5 separate regions of the Homo sapiens genome follow, and all the other regions are linked to region 3. The links are contacts of gene promoters, found by promoter capture Hi-C in human tissues and cell types (Jung and others, 2019). All regions are on one chromosome and are shown on one strand. The core of a region is centred on a gene start or on the middle of the fragment in contact, and the rest is flanking DNA. Distances in the headings are between cores, read along the strand shown. Region 1 has its middle 1.4 Mb from the start of LINC01724. Region 2 has its middle 1.2 Mb from the start of LINC01031. Region 3 holds the start of B3GALT2 (beta-1,3-galactosyltransferase 2). Region 4 has its middle 1.4 Mb from the start of LINC01724. Region 5 has its middle 1.1 Mb from the start of LINC01031.

Region 1 (2,700 bases), core at 173-2,672, 1.5 Mb before region 3:
ATGTGTTCTAATCTCCATGTTTCTGACATTACTGGCTTCCAAAAAAAAAGTCTGCTGCTAATTCATCTACTGATTCTTCACAAATATTTATTGAACCCTTCTGTAACGATACCACTCCTGGGTTCTATTTGGTACATGGCTAGCTAGAAGCAACTTAGACCTAGAAAACTGATGAAAATCTGTATTTAATGCCTCTAAGAAGAAATCCATATTTGAAGAAATCCATATTTCTCTTCTTTCCTCTCCTCTTTCTCCTGGCTAGAACATGTTCAGTTGAAAATTCTTTGAATCAGCAAAGAAACAACCTTAGAAAAAACAAGAAGGCAACTCTCACATCTCTTTAGTTCTAATTGCCAAAAATTAGGAGAGTGCATACAGTTTGGAGAATCTTTTTATATCTGAATGCTAGCTGCAATTATTTCAGAACAATATAATTTTTAAATATTCAGCCTTTGCAAGAAAAAAGGCATTGTAGAATAGAGGAGCATGATCTAATCAATAGCCTCTACCTGATAGAGACTTGTTCATAGGTCTGTGCCCTGGGACGTTGCATTGGAAACAGAGAAACCAATGATTTGAGTTTATACAATAGGTGAGAATATCTTAAATATATGAAAAAATATTCACATGTTGGAAAAACAAATAGAAAGCAAATATCTAAAATTCTTCTCCTAAAAAAATCTTTCCTATATGCAAATCTATAATCATTGTTAAATTGCTGAAGATTCTTAAATCTAACTCTGTATGTCTCTCCTACATACTTGATCAACGTATCTGACTAGCAATAAAAATATTTACCAACGCACCTTGCTGATACTCCAAATGTTATGTTACTCTTTTTCTAAAGTTATTTCCTGGTTTCTAATTATTCATCTTATATGTGTATATAATTAGCACTTTGCTTAGGACAACATGGTCATATCATAGATATTATTGACCACAAGAGTGGACAGATATTGGCAAGCTTCATTTTTAATGGTAATATTTTTACAGAGATTGAGCATTTTTGTACAAAAAGTAGTCAGTCTCCCTAGTAATTTCTATCTTTTTTATTTTTTAACAAGAAAAAGATCAAGCAAACCTGCACTTGTACCCCTGAATTTAAAAATAAAAGTTAAAAGTAACAAACAAAATCAATTAAAAAATTACAAATATAAATGTGTATGACACTCGAGGGGTTATTTTTCCTCTTTTCTCAGGAATGCTTTTATTACAAGAATATATATCTAAATTGAATTCCTGTCCTTAAGGTACTTGGGCCACTTTAATTGCTTTTCTAATTTCTTTTAAAAATTGTTTCTGTGGTCTTTATTATTAAATAGATACTGTGATAGGAATTTATCAAAAACTTATTAATTAAAATATATAAATTTATTAATTAAAATATATTCCTCAAATATATGTCTGATTTCATAAATATAAACCTATGCAAATGCAAATGAGATGGGAGTTGGGACATTCATTTGGGCTTGAAATCTGTAGAAGTTTGGTTTAACAAACCAATTGCACACTGTGTGGAAGAAAAATGTCCTGTCCAAGACCAAGATTTTTGCCGATATCTGTAGGAAGAAGTAAAGAAACATTTTCATTATGCACTCTAGTATCAGTTTTCTTCTTACCTGCCGGTTTGCATTAATATGTGTGTGTGTTTGTGTGTGCATGCGTCTATGTATAAAATATTTATACACACATACTTTATATATATACTTATATATATATACTTTACATATATAAGCACACACTTCACATATGACATATAAATACACATATATCCATTGTTACATTTATTCCTGTGAGCCTATATACATATTGCACAAAGCACTGACATTTTGATAAATATGTGGGAATTTGAGAGACTTATGGAGTGAGTCAGAATACCTTATTAAAACTGCAACTTTGCATTTAAAATTATTTTATTAGTATATGCTCACTCTCTGAAGTTCTTTTGTCCTCCCAACTACTGAGGATTTATAACTATTGAGGGTCAATAGATGGTCAAATTTTATTCCCTTTTTCTCCCTTATGCCTTTTCTCTGGTATTCAGCCTTTCTCTCATGATTTGCACTGGGAACTCCACTGAATACATAATAATATCGATAATATATCAGTTTCATGCAGACACACACATATATTCTAGGCACTATGTATTACAGGTAATATATAATACAATTTTCATCCAAAAGTATGGCATAGGCATTACTATTATCTTTACTTTGTAGGTGGATAAACTGTATATTAGGAAAATTAACTTGCAAAATTTCTGTATCTGACATGTATTCCCAAATTTCTGTATCTTCTCTTTTCAGAAAGATTGTCCATGTAGGGTTTAGAAAAGCCTCTAGATTTCTGGGCTTTGTTATAAACATATTATCTGGCTGCCCTAATACATTTGAAAAACCTTCTTCAACTCTATACTGAAAAGCAAAAGTTGTCTATTTACTTTCATGTAAGCTCTGATGAGACTCCCTAGTTACTAAGCACAAGAGGGCAGGAATATGTTTGCCTTGCTTATCATTTTATAATCAAGGCAGGCATTATGACTGCATAATGTCAGTCATTATGCATAACAATAAACATTTATTAAATGAATTATAAATGGATGTGTAATTATGATATCTCAAAGAAAATTAAATATTTAAAACAATACAGACTAAACTGTTTTCTGAATCCAGAAATTTGGTTCAAATGTCAAAAATCTCT
Region 2 (2,700 bases), core at 179-2,678, 1.3 Mb before region 3:
AGAATTAGCAACATGGATAGATCTTAAGAAAATTCTTACTGCAAGAAATATGAGATATATAACAAAACAAATTTTACTGGAACAGCAACAAAAATATGCACAATAATAAATATCCTCCTTTTGTAAGAGTATAGTCTTATAAAAATACATATTAAATACATAAAATTTGTTACTTTCATATGGGGAGAGGATAGTGGGAGATGGCTACAAAATTGAGTGGAATCAATGAATGAATGAATCAACTAAATATTAAAAATCAAACACAGACCTTGCATAGACTCTGGTGATTAAAAGGTGCTATGAACAAATCGTCTCAATTTGTGTGTCTGATGCCTAAGGAAAAAAAAATCAATAAGATACAATTTGTTTTAATAAAGAAAAAGTGCCAGTTCAGCAATGAAACAGTAAATACGAGGGAAGGAAGTAGGATATGACTTCAGAGAGATAGACAGTGTTCCGTTTATGTGGGTTATGGTAAAAAAGTGAATTTTATTTTTTCATTCTAATTTCAGTGTGATCTACTGGAGTTTTTTAAGCATGGAAGAAATATTATCAGACTTAGATTAGAGTGAAATACTCTGGCTACAATATAAAAATTAGACTGCAGAATGAAAGTAAAAATGAGACAACTGCTAGGAAGCTTTTGATTTTTCTGATGAGTTGTCATGGTTGGCACCAGTGTTATAGAACACAGTGAGAAGTTGGTAAAAGTGATCATGTCCCCTTCTGGACTAAGGTATGTTGTTAGCATCCAGTGGTTTTCCCACTAACGCCCCCAAATCCTTGGAACGACATCCTTAGAACTTCAGAGTTTGGACTATGCCGACCACAATTCTCCACTTACTCTTCGGAAATATTGTCCTTACTGAAAGAGATACTGCTTTCTCTTAAAGCTTCCTGTCTGTTCACATGCCACTGGGTTTTTAGCTTGGGAAAACCCTGTTTTCTCTTTTCTTGATCGTCATCTCTCAGATTCAGCTAAAATTCATTTCCTATGAGAATTCCTCTAAAACTGTCTTCATACTATGAAAAATTTAATTTCTGAGCCTAGTACTCCATTATTAATATGTAATTTTCTTTGTAATAGTGCTTTTCTATTAATGTCACTTTTTCTGTGTGTAATTTTTACTTGTCTGATTTTCTAACTAGATTGTGTAATTAGCAAAGACATGACTATATAATCACCACTTAACCAAACACCTTAAATAAGGAAGGTGTTTTATAAATGTTTGGTTTTGACTACTCAGTCAAAAAGTAATGAACAATACTACTGCCTTTCTTCTTATTTTTTTTTTTTTTTTTTTGCTTTAAACCTACATGTCTCTTTTGGAGATTTTCTGTAAAGTAAAACAATGTATATGTATAAATATGTTCTCATAGTTTGCTATAAAAATAAAATATATTAACTCAGTTGACTAAATAGTATATTCAAATATTTACTCATTTCATTTGTTCATTAAGAATAACATTTATTTGCCAAGAGCTAAACACATGAAAGTATTAAGTATCGCAGAAGGTACAAAGAAAATATCTACTGTAATGGGAGAGTATTTTTGTGGGTTGAGTAGAGACACAACTTTAAACATAAAGTAGAGTGATCTCAGAATAATAATAAAAATATCACACAATTTCACAAAAAGCTTAGCAATGAGGAGGAACACCATGTTTAACCTTTTCTTCTTGACTTATCTATTACCATGTTTTTTATTATAAAACTCAACAAAAAGTATGAAGCATTATACCAGTTAGAGTAGCACAAGCTGTACAGATGTACATGGAGGTTCAATGATTTTGTCTGGGAGATTGCTATTTCTCATTCACATAAATTCTACTTGGTAGTGATTGTGAGTGCTGGAGTGAGAATAGGGTCAGGAAATTGATACACACTGTATCCAGAGAAGGGGATGCTCTGATATTATGCAGCCACTAGATGGGAGATGAGAGCAATTGGAAGATGCAGTAGGAAGCGTTTTGGGGTCAAGCCTGGAAACGGTGCACGTCTTAACCAGAATAACGAAGTTAACAGGCTTGATGAATTATCTAGTTGCTGCCACAAGTATATTTTAAGAGCACTGAAATAAGATTAATGTAAACAAAATATAGGTACATGAAGAATATAGCAAATAGAAAATTTCAGGGTCAAGTTGATGTTCTCCCAACTTAAAAGAAATAAGAGAATGCAATTCTATATATTGAATATGACCAACCACAAAGCAAATCTTGTTCAAATACACATAAAAATATGCATGAGAGAAAATATTCAATAAATCCTTGTTAAATGAAATAGATCTGATTATGTTTCTTTAAATCCATATTCAAGGTATCAGAAAAAATTATGGTTTGATATATTTCTATCTCTGCCCTTTTATTCTTGGTCTGATAATTTTGTGGCACTCAACCTCAAACTTAAAGGACATTGCAAATTGTTAGTAGATTTTAAATGCCTATTACATTATAACTACAGTTCCAAATCATCAATCTGATGATCTGACAGTATTATATAAAAAATGATAAAAATAGATGAAATGATCAATTCTTTAATAAATTATGAGACCCTACTTCATTGGAGACTCTTCAATGTTAAACTATTTGATATGCAAATCTCAGATGCTCTGCTCTGGGTGTTTTTGTATCTTTTTTTCTGTGTTCCACTTTGAATAACTTTTATTAACTTGTCTTCTAGCTTACTGATTCTTTCCT
Region 3 (2,700 bases), core at 185-2,684:
CTGGAAAATAAGTTATTTTAAGTAAGTTCTTAAGCATTACTCTGTTAACTAGTAAACTAATTTTAAAAACAAAACGGTAGTGAGTGAGAATTGCAGTATGGGTGGATATAGACTACAAGGAAGTTGGGTTTTAGTCCTCTCCTTCAAACTTAACTAGGAAAAGTCAAAGCTCAGTCTAGGCTTTAGGTTTCCTATTTATAAAATTCTTTTTTTTCTTTAACGATCCTTCTAACATTTCTAATACAGTGGGGTTCTTAAAACTACAAAGCACATTTCATCAGCAAAGCTCAAAAATATGTGGACAAAATTTTTTTTAATATCAGAGAAAACAAATTCATATTCATTTGAAATAGCATATATTAATGGTGGAGGCAGTGAGATGAAGAATATGTATATAACTGTTAACCTTTAGCTTAAGCTCCAAAACTATAACTTTCTAGGACTGAATTACTGTCCCTAGAGTCACAGAGGAAAAACTGATAATAAAGGCTTTTTACTACAACAAAAAATTTAAAAAAACCTTCCCTACTGCTCTGCAGTAAGAAAAGAAGGTGCCAGCCCCAGAAACTAACCATATTAGAAAAATCTCAGTGAGTGTGTAGTGTTAATAAAATCTGCCTCATGGCAAGTTATTAAATCTTTCTGAAACATTAGAATAAGTAAACATAATTAGTAAAATCTCATTACCCCCAGATCCTGTACAAGTGTGCTATATCTATTACATCATTTTACTGAATTCTACGATACATGTAATTTTAAAGGGAAGGAAAAATAAATAAAAAATAAATGACAACATTAAAAAGTGATTTAAAATAAAGTTTTCTGCCATCAAGAACACCAAAAACCACATAAGAGCAAAAAAGAAGTGGGCTGTATCACATCATGCATTAGTAAAGTAATCCAAGACAGCTTATTTATACAAACCCCAGAAAACGGGGGGGGGGATCTAAATTACAAAGATACATGGTTTCAATAGAAACCATAGGTCTTAACTACATATTAGTAAAAAATCAAGAGCAATTTGAAAGCAGAGAAAAAAAACTTCAAGAAGAGAATGCACTGAAGGGGTTAAATTACACCAACTTACACACAAAAGCTTATACTGCTTACACCCTACAAAAGCATGTAAGAAACATGAAAACCAACATCTAACACAGAAAACACTTAGAAAGCCTGTACTTAAGAATAAAGTTAAAAAAGGAAGTAAGCTGGAAAAAATAAAATCATAACCATTTCATAATCATCACATTTTCAAATTATTCACTCATCACTACACTTGCATTCAACATATATAATTTATCACATAAAAGCAAAATCTCTAAGCTTCTCCCTACCTTAGGTTTTTAGTCAAAATGAATGCAAACAATCACGTGGGATTCAGCCAAGCAGTGACGTTAAATTCTGCTCTGTCAGAGAGAGCATCTGTCAAGCCCACATTTAAACTGCTGCCTGCCTGTGCAGCAGCTGAGGAACCGTGGATTTCATATTATAGACTAAAACCCCATTAAAACTGCTCAAAATCCTTCCTGCAGCTGCCAGGCAACAACGAAAGAAGAGAGGTAAATCCTATTCTTTTCCAATACAACTGAAGCACTACATTTTAGCTCTGGCTGCTTTACATTGCAGCTCAGTGTTATTAGTAGAAATATGGATACTGAGACGAGAACACAGCACTGCATTGTCCAGCCAGGAAAATAGCAGATGTAAAAAGCTTCAATGCATCAACTGTCGGGAAGAGTCAACAGTGCTACAAGCAGAACGGGCAACTACAGCTCTTTTGTTTAACGAAAGAGAGAAAATGAAAGAAAGGGAAAATTTCAGAAGACTAGGACCCATATGAACAAGGAGGGTAACTCGAAGACAAGCAGACAGATGGACACTTTGGATACTGTGAAAAGCAATCGCAGGAGGCAGACTGTTGGGGGATGTGCGCATGTTCGATAGCATCTTTTTTGCTGAAGTGATGGCGTGCCAAAAGTATTTTCAGTGGGCATAATCCTCTTCACATAAATGGCCTGACCAAGGAAGGTATGTCAATATCTTGTGTATGATAGTCATTTAAATGTGTTACCTTTTTATAGCCCTGGAGGCACTAATACCTGATAAGCAAGTTCATACAGCTCACTGCCCTTGAAACTATGAAAAGGTTTCTTAATATCTGATTTTAAAATTTGTCATTGTTTAGAAGACAAGCTGTCACTGCTTTATGCAGCTAAATATGTAGCTTGGAGTAATTCTGGGTAATAGACATCAGAGGGAAAAGGCAAATAAGAAGAAGATGTGTTTAAAGGATTCCTTAAGAAATTAAACTTAAAAAAAAATCTGTAGCCCTTTACAAAAAACACAGCAATATTCTATCAAATTAGGTCAAACTGAATCCTTATCTAGTAAATTAAATGCTCTCTTAAAAATGGCTATCAAAAGACACAATGCAGTGAAATTTCATTAAATAGTAGCAAGGAAAACCTTAAGAGTTTTTTTTTCAAAGTCCTTTTAAAACAAAACCTTAATATGTAACAGCTTTTAGTAACAAAATCTTCCCCAACATCTCCCTAAATGAAGATAATGAACACAACCAAAGAGAGTATCAACAAATTTTAAATATTACCAAGCTACAAGAAGATACTAAAAGGAAAGCATTAACATAAGATCACATAAGGTAGTGTGAGTTTATGCATAACCCCACAATAGAGCCTCGTG
Region 4 (2,700 bases), core at 1-2,500, 1.5 Mb before region 3:
CTTAGTCATTTTCTTTTGCATAACTCATTGCCAAAATGTTTCCATGGGAATAAAATCCAACTCCTTAATATAGACTATGTTCTATGCAATTCTCCTATGGCTCCATCTAAATTCAGATATTACCAGAAAAAAAAAAACAGCTAAAGTGATATGCATAAAAACAATGCATTTTGATGGCTTTTGAGCTTAGTTATTGAATTCTAAATTCACCATTCAGTTGGCATTTCTCTTTCTGTTTAATCTTAAACCAACTAATAACTATTTATACTACCCTGATACTTTATTTGGGAAAAGCTCACACAGACAAGAAAATAGTAGAAAATTGCCTATACAAGTCTCTCTCTCTCTCCCCCACTCCTTTTGAATGTACATATGTCTCTCTATATATTATACCTGCGTGTATATTTCCAAATATACCTATATGGAAGTATAATATATATAAGTATACATATGGGTATATACATAAGTGTGTGTGTGTGTGTATACATATATATATATATTTGACAAAATTACATTATCTATTTTTAATGTGTTCAAACACACAAGAGTTTTGTACAAAGGTTCTTGCAACTTACAGGCATACCATGTACTCAGTGTCATTGCTCATTGCTCTATTTTAAGAAAGCTCGGAGTGGCAGACACAACAATTTTCCATTCTGTGGGTTCTTTAGCCATGGATCAAAATAATTTTTTTATAAATAGTTTTTGCATATTTGCTTTAATTGCACTGGCAAAATTTCAGAGAAAAAAAAAAACACCTTTTAGCTCTCAATATACATGACATGTCCAGAGTGGTATTTCCTAGGTTTTCTTCTAGGATTTTCATAGTTTAGGGTCTCAGTTAAGTCTTTGATTTGTCTTGAGTTAATTTTTCCATATGGTAAAATGTAGGGGTTCAGTTTTAATCTTCTGCATATGGGCTAGCCAGTTATCCCAACACCACTTATTAAATAGGGGGTCCTTTCTCCACTCTTTGTTACTGTCGATTTTGTGATTAAGTCACCAAAAGCAATCGCAACAACAAAAAAATGACAAGTGGGACCTAATTAAACTAAAAAGCTTCTGCACAGATAAAGAAACTATTAAGAGAGTAAACAGACAACCTGCAGAATGGGAGAGATATTCACAAACTACACATCTGACAGAGATCTAATGTCCAGAATCTATAAGGAATGTAAGCAATTCTACAAACAAAAACCAAATAACCTTCTTAAAAGATGGGCCAAGGACGTGAACAGACAGTTCTCAAAAGAAGACACTAATCATTAATCATCTAATCATTAGAGAAATGCAAATCAAAACCACGGTGAGATACCATTTCACACCAGTCAGAATGGCAATTATTAAAAAGTCATAAAATAACCTATGTTGGTGAAATTGCAGAGAAAAGGGAAGGCTTATACACTGTTTGTAAGAATGTAAATTAGTTTAGCCACTATGGAAAGCAGTTTGGAGATTTCTCAAAGAACTTAAAAGAGAGCTACCATTCAAACAAGCAATCCCATTACTGGGAATGTACACAAAGGGAAATAAATTACTCTATCAAAAAGACACATGCACTCAAATGTTCATGGAAACACTATTCACAATAGCAAAGACATGGAATCAGCCTAGATGGCCATCAGTGAGGGACTGGATAAACAAAATGGAACACATATACACCATAGAATACTACACAACTATCAAAAGAATGAAATCATGTTCTTCGCAGCAACGTGGATGCAATGGGAGGCCACTAACCTAAGTGAATTAACACAGGAACAGAAAACCAAATACCATATGTTATCACTTATAAGTGGGAGCTAAACATTAAGTACATATGGATGTAATGATTGGAACAGTAGACACTGAGGAGGGCCAGGTGCCATGGTTCACGCCTGTAATCCCAGCACTTTGGGAGGCCCAGGTGGGTGGATCACTTGAGGTCAAGAGTTCGAGACCAGCCTGGCCAATATGGCAAAAACCTCATCTCTACTAAAAAAACAAAAATTAGCCGGGTATGGTGGCGCATGCCTGTAGCCCCATGTACTTGAGAGGCTGAGGCATGAGAATCATTTGAACCCTGAAGCAGAGGTTGTGGTGAGTTGAGATCGCACCACTGCACTCCAGCCTGAGTAACAAGGTGAGGCTCCATCTCAAAAAAAAAAAAAAAAAATACTGAAGACTACTAGTGGGGGAAGGCTAGAGAAGAGTGTTGTGAAGCTACCTATCAGGTACCATGTTCAGTACCTGGGTGATGAGATAATACATAAACCAAACCTCAGTGACACGTAATTTACCCGTGGAACAAACCTGCACATGTACTCCCTGAACCTAAAATAAAAGCGGGAAAAAAGAAGTGATTTACCTCAAAGTTACTGTTTTCTCTATATTTCAGCTTTGAAACCTAAATAGTTGATAAATGTTCCCAAATTCAATGAATTTAGTACATGTTAGAACTAAGATTTGAATTCAGGCAACCTATATTTTCATCTACTGTACCACCCATTATACTGTGTTAACAGTGATACAGAAATGGAAAACTAGCAGTATTTGTGAATGTATTTAGAGATAGGCTAATGAATTGGGTGTGTGTGGTGTAGAAGAAACTATATATAGTTTCTACATATATATCATTTCTATATAGAAATAGTTTATTTTTCTAATACTTATATAAAATGCTTTCATACACATATATTTTTTCCCTGGAATAAATCCAGT
Region 5 (2,700 bases), core at 110-2,609, 1.2 Mb before region 3:
ATAGAAATCATATCAAATGACTTTTCTGACCACAGTTGAATAAAACTACAAATGAATAACAAGAGGAACCTTAGAAAATATGCAAACATGTGGAAATGAAACAACATGACCAATGAGTCAAGGAAGAAATTAAGAAGAAAATTTTAAAATTTTATATAAAAAGAAGTATGTCCACTATCACCACTTCTAGTCAACAAAGAACTAGCAGTGCTAACAATAGCAATCAGGCCAGAAAAAAAAGCATTCAAATTGGAAAGGAATAAATAAAATAGTTTATTTGTAGATGACATGATCCTATATATAGAAAACCCCAAAGATTTCACATGCACACACACACACACACACACACACACACAGACACACACACACACACACAGAGAGAGAGAAAGAGAGAGAAACTGTTAGAACTAAAAAATTCAGTAAAGTTGCAGGAACAAAAAATCAACATACAAAAATTAATAGCATTTTTATATACAAATAACAGCCTACCTGAAGAAAATAAGGAAAATAATCCCATTTATGGTAGCATCAAAACAAATACCTAGGAATAAATTTAATCTAGGAAATGAGAGATTTGTACACAGAAAGCTATAAAGCATTGATGAAAAACATTGAAAAAGACACAAAAAATGTAAATATATACTGGGTTTATGGCTGAGAACTCAAATTGCTAAAATGTTAATAATACTTAAAACAATATACAAATTTAACACAATCCCTATGAAAATTCCAATGGTATTCTTCACAGAAATAGAAAAAAAATGCTAAAATTCTTATGGAACCAAAAAAGAAACCCCAAGTAGTCAAAGCAATACAGAGGAAAAAGAAAAAGAAAAAAAAAGTTGGAAGCATCACCACCATTCCTGTTTCAAAATAGAAGCATGGCATATTTTATTGCACTGTGCTTTATTGTGCTTTGCATATATACACTTTTTCCTAATTGAATATTGCTTTTTTTTCTTTTCTTTCTTTTTTTTTTTTTTTTGTTTTGAGACGGAGTCTTGCTCTTTCAACCAGGCTGGAGTGCAGTGGCGCGATCTCGGCTCACTGTCAGCTCCACCTCCCATGTTCACGCCATTCTCCTGCCTCAGCCTCCCCAGTAGCTGGGACCACAGGCGCCCGCCACCACGCCTGGCTAATTTTTTGTATTTTTAGTAGAGACGGGGTTTCACCGTGTTAGCCAGGATGGTTTCAATCTCCTGACCTCGTGATCTGCCCGCCTTGGCCTCCCAAAGTGCTAGGATTACAGGCCTAAGCCACCGTGCACGGCTGAATATTGCATTTTTTACAAATTGTTTGTGGTAACTCTGCAACCAGCAAGGAAGTTAATTAGCCTCATTTTTCCAACAACATATGCTCACTTCATGTCTTTGTATTTCATTTTGGTAATCCCCATAATATTCCAAACTCTTTCATTATTATAATATCACTAATGATGATTTGTGGTCAGTGATCTTTGATGTTACTATTATAATTGTTTGGGGATACCACAAACCATGTCCAGATAACACAGTGAACTGAACTGATAAATGTTTTGTGTGTTCTGACTGCTCAACAACCAGTTATTCCCAATCTCTTTCCCTTGTCCGGGGTCTCCCTATTTCCTGAGATATAAAGATATTGAAATTAGGCCAATTAATAACCCATTATAGATGCTATTAAGTATTCACCATTCTAGATGCTAAGTATTCAAGGGTAAGGAAAAGTTTTATACCTTTCATTTTAAATCAAAAGCTTGAAATGATTATGCCTAGTGTGGATGACATGTCAAAGGTCATGACAGGCTAAAAACTTGACCTCTTGTGCCAGTTAGGTGTGACTGAATTCCTGCAATCTCATAATAAAACTTGACCAGATGAAGTGTTGCTTTTATGGATCAACAAGAAATGTGGTTTCTTAAAATGGAATCCAACCCTGATGAGGATGCTGTGAACGTCGTTGAAAGGACAACATATGATTCAGAATATTACATAAACTTACTTGATAAGTACCTAAAGGATTTGAGAAGATTATTCCTATTTGAAAGAAGTTCTACTGTGGGTAAATGCTAAGAAAAAGCATTGAATGCTACAGAGAAATTGTATGTGAATGGAAGAGTCAATCAATGTGACAAACTTTATTGTTGTCTTGAACTAATTGCTGCAGCCACTTCAACCTTCAGCAACCACCGTCCCAATCAGTCTACAGCCATTAAGTTTTAAGCATGATCCTCCACCAGCGAAAGGATTATGACTCACTGAAGGAAAAGATGATTTTTAGCATTTTAGAACAATAAAAAAATTTAAATAAAGGGTCTACACATTGATTTTTAGACACAATGCTATTATGCACTTAATAGACTATGCTATGGTATAAACATAACTTTGGAATTCACTGGGAAACCAAAAAATTTGTGGACTCACTTTATTATGGTATTAACTGTGTCACCCAGGCTGGAGTGCAACAGTGTCATCACAGCTCACTGACTTCAGGGCTCAGTTGATTCTCCCACCTCAGCCTCCAATGTAGCTGGGGCTACTTGTGTGCACCACCACACCAGACAATTTTTTTAAATTTATTTTTTGTAGAGACAGGGTTTCACCATGTTCCCCAGGCTGGTCTCAAACTCCTGAGTTCAAGTAATCTGCCCGCTTTGCCCTCCCAAAGTGCTGGAATTAACAGGCATGAGCCATCACACCAGCCTAGATGAACTTTTAATAA

Evidence for each region. Contacts are between HindIII fragments. The study calls those that stand out against the background at their distance.
Region 1: a fragment that was not itself captured here is called in contact with the fragment with the promoter of B3GALT2 in region 3 in 1 of the 25 tissues and cell types used here (hippocampus).
Region 2: a fragment that was not itself captured here is called in contact with the fragment with the promoter of B3GALT2 in region 3 in 1 of the 25 tissues and cell types used here (dorsolateral prefrontal cortex).
Region 4: a fragment that was not itself captured here is called in contact with the fragment with the promoter of B3GALT2 in region 3 in 1 of the 25 tissues and cell types used here (dorsolateral prefrontal cortex).
Region 5: a fragment that was not itself captured here is called in contact with the fragment with the promoter of B3GALT2 in region 3 in 1 of the 25 tissues and cell types used here (dorsolateral prefrontal cortex).

Annotation. Positions count from the first base shown.
Region 1 is chr1:194,732,246-194,734,945 of GRCh38, reverse strand. No RefSeq gene overlaps it. Among named protein-coding and RNA genes, the nearest start is that of LINC01724, 1.4 Mb to the left of the region's middle. The HindIII fragment of the contact is 4,833 bases long and covers 1-2,700 here.
Region 2 is chr1:194,466,137-194,468,836 of GRCh38, reverse strand. No RefSeq gene overlaps it. Among named protein-coding and RNA genes, the nearest start is that of LINC01031, 1.2 Mb to the right of the region's middle. The HindIII fragment of the contact is 3,400 bases long and covers 1-2,700 here.
Region 3 is chr1:193,185,347-193,188,046 of GRCh38, reverse strand. B3GALT2 (beta-1,3-galactosyltransferase 2) reads left to right here and starts at 1,434. Exons shown (of 2, transcript NM_003783.3): 1 at 1,434-2,028. All of the region lies in intron 10 of CDC73 (cell division cycle 73), which reads right to left. The HindIII fragment of the contact is 2,577 bases long and covers 486-2,700 here.
Region 4 is chr1:194,715,431-194,718,130 of GRCh38, reverse strand. No RefSeq gene overlaps it. Among named protein-coding and RNA genes, the nearest start is that of LINC01724, 1.4 Mb to the left of the region's middle. The HindIII fragment of the contact is 5,509 bases long and covers 1-2,700 here.
Region 5 is chr1:194,396,450-194,399,149 of GRCh38, reverse strand. No RefSeq gene overlaps it. Among named protein-coding and RNA genes, the nearest start is that of LINC01031, 1.1 Mb to the right of the region's middle. The HindIII fragment of the contact is 6,004 bases long and covers 1-2,700 here.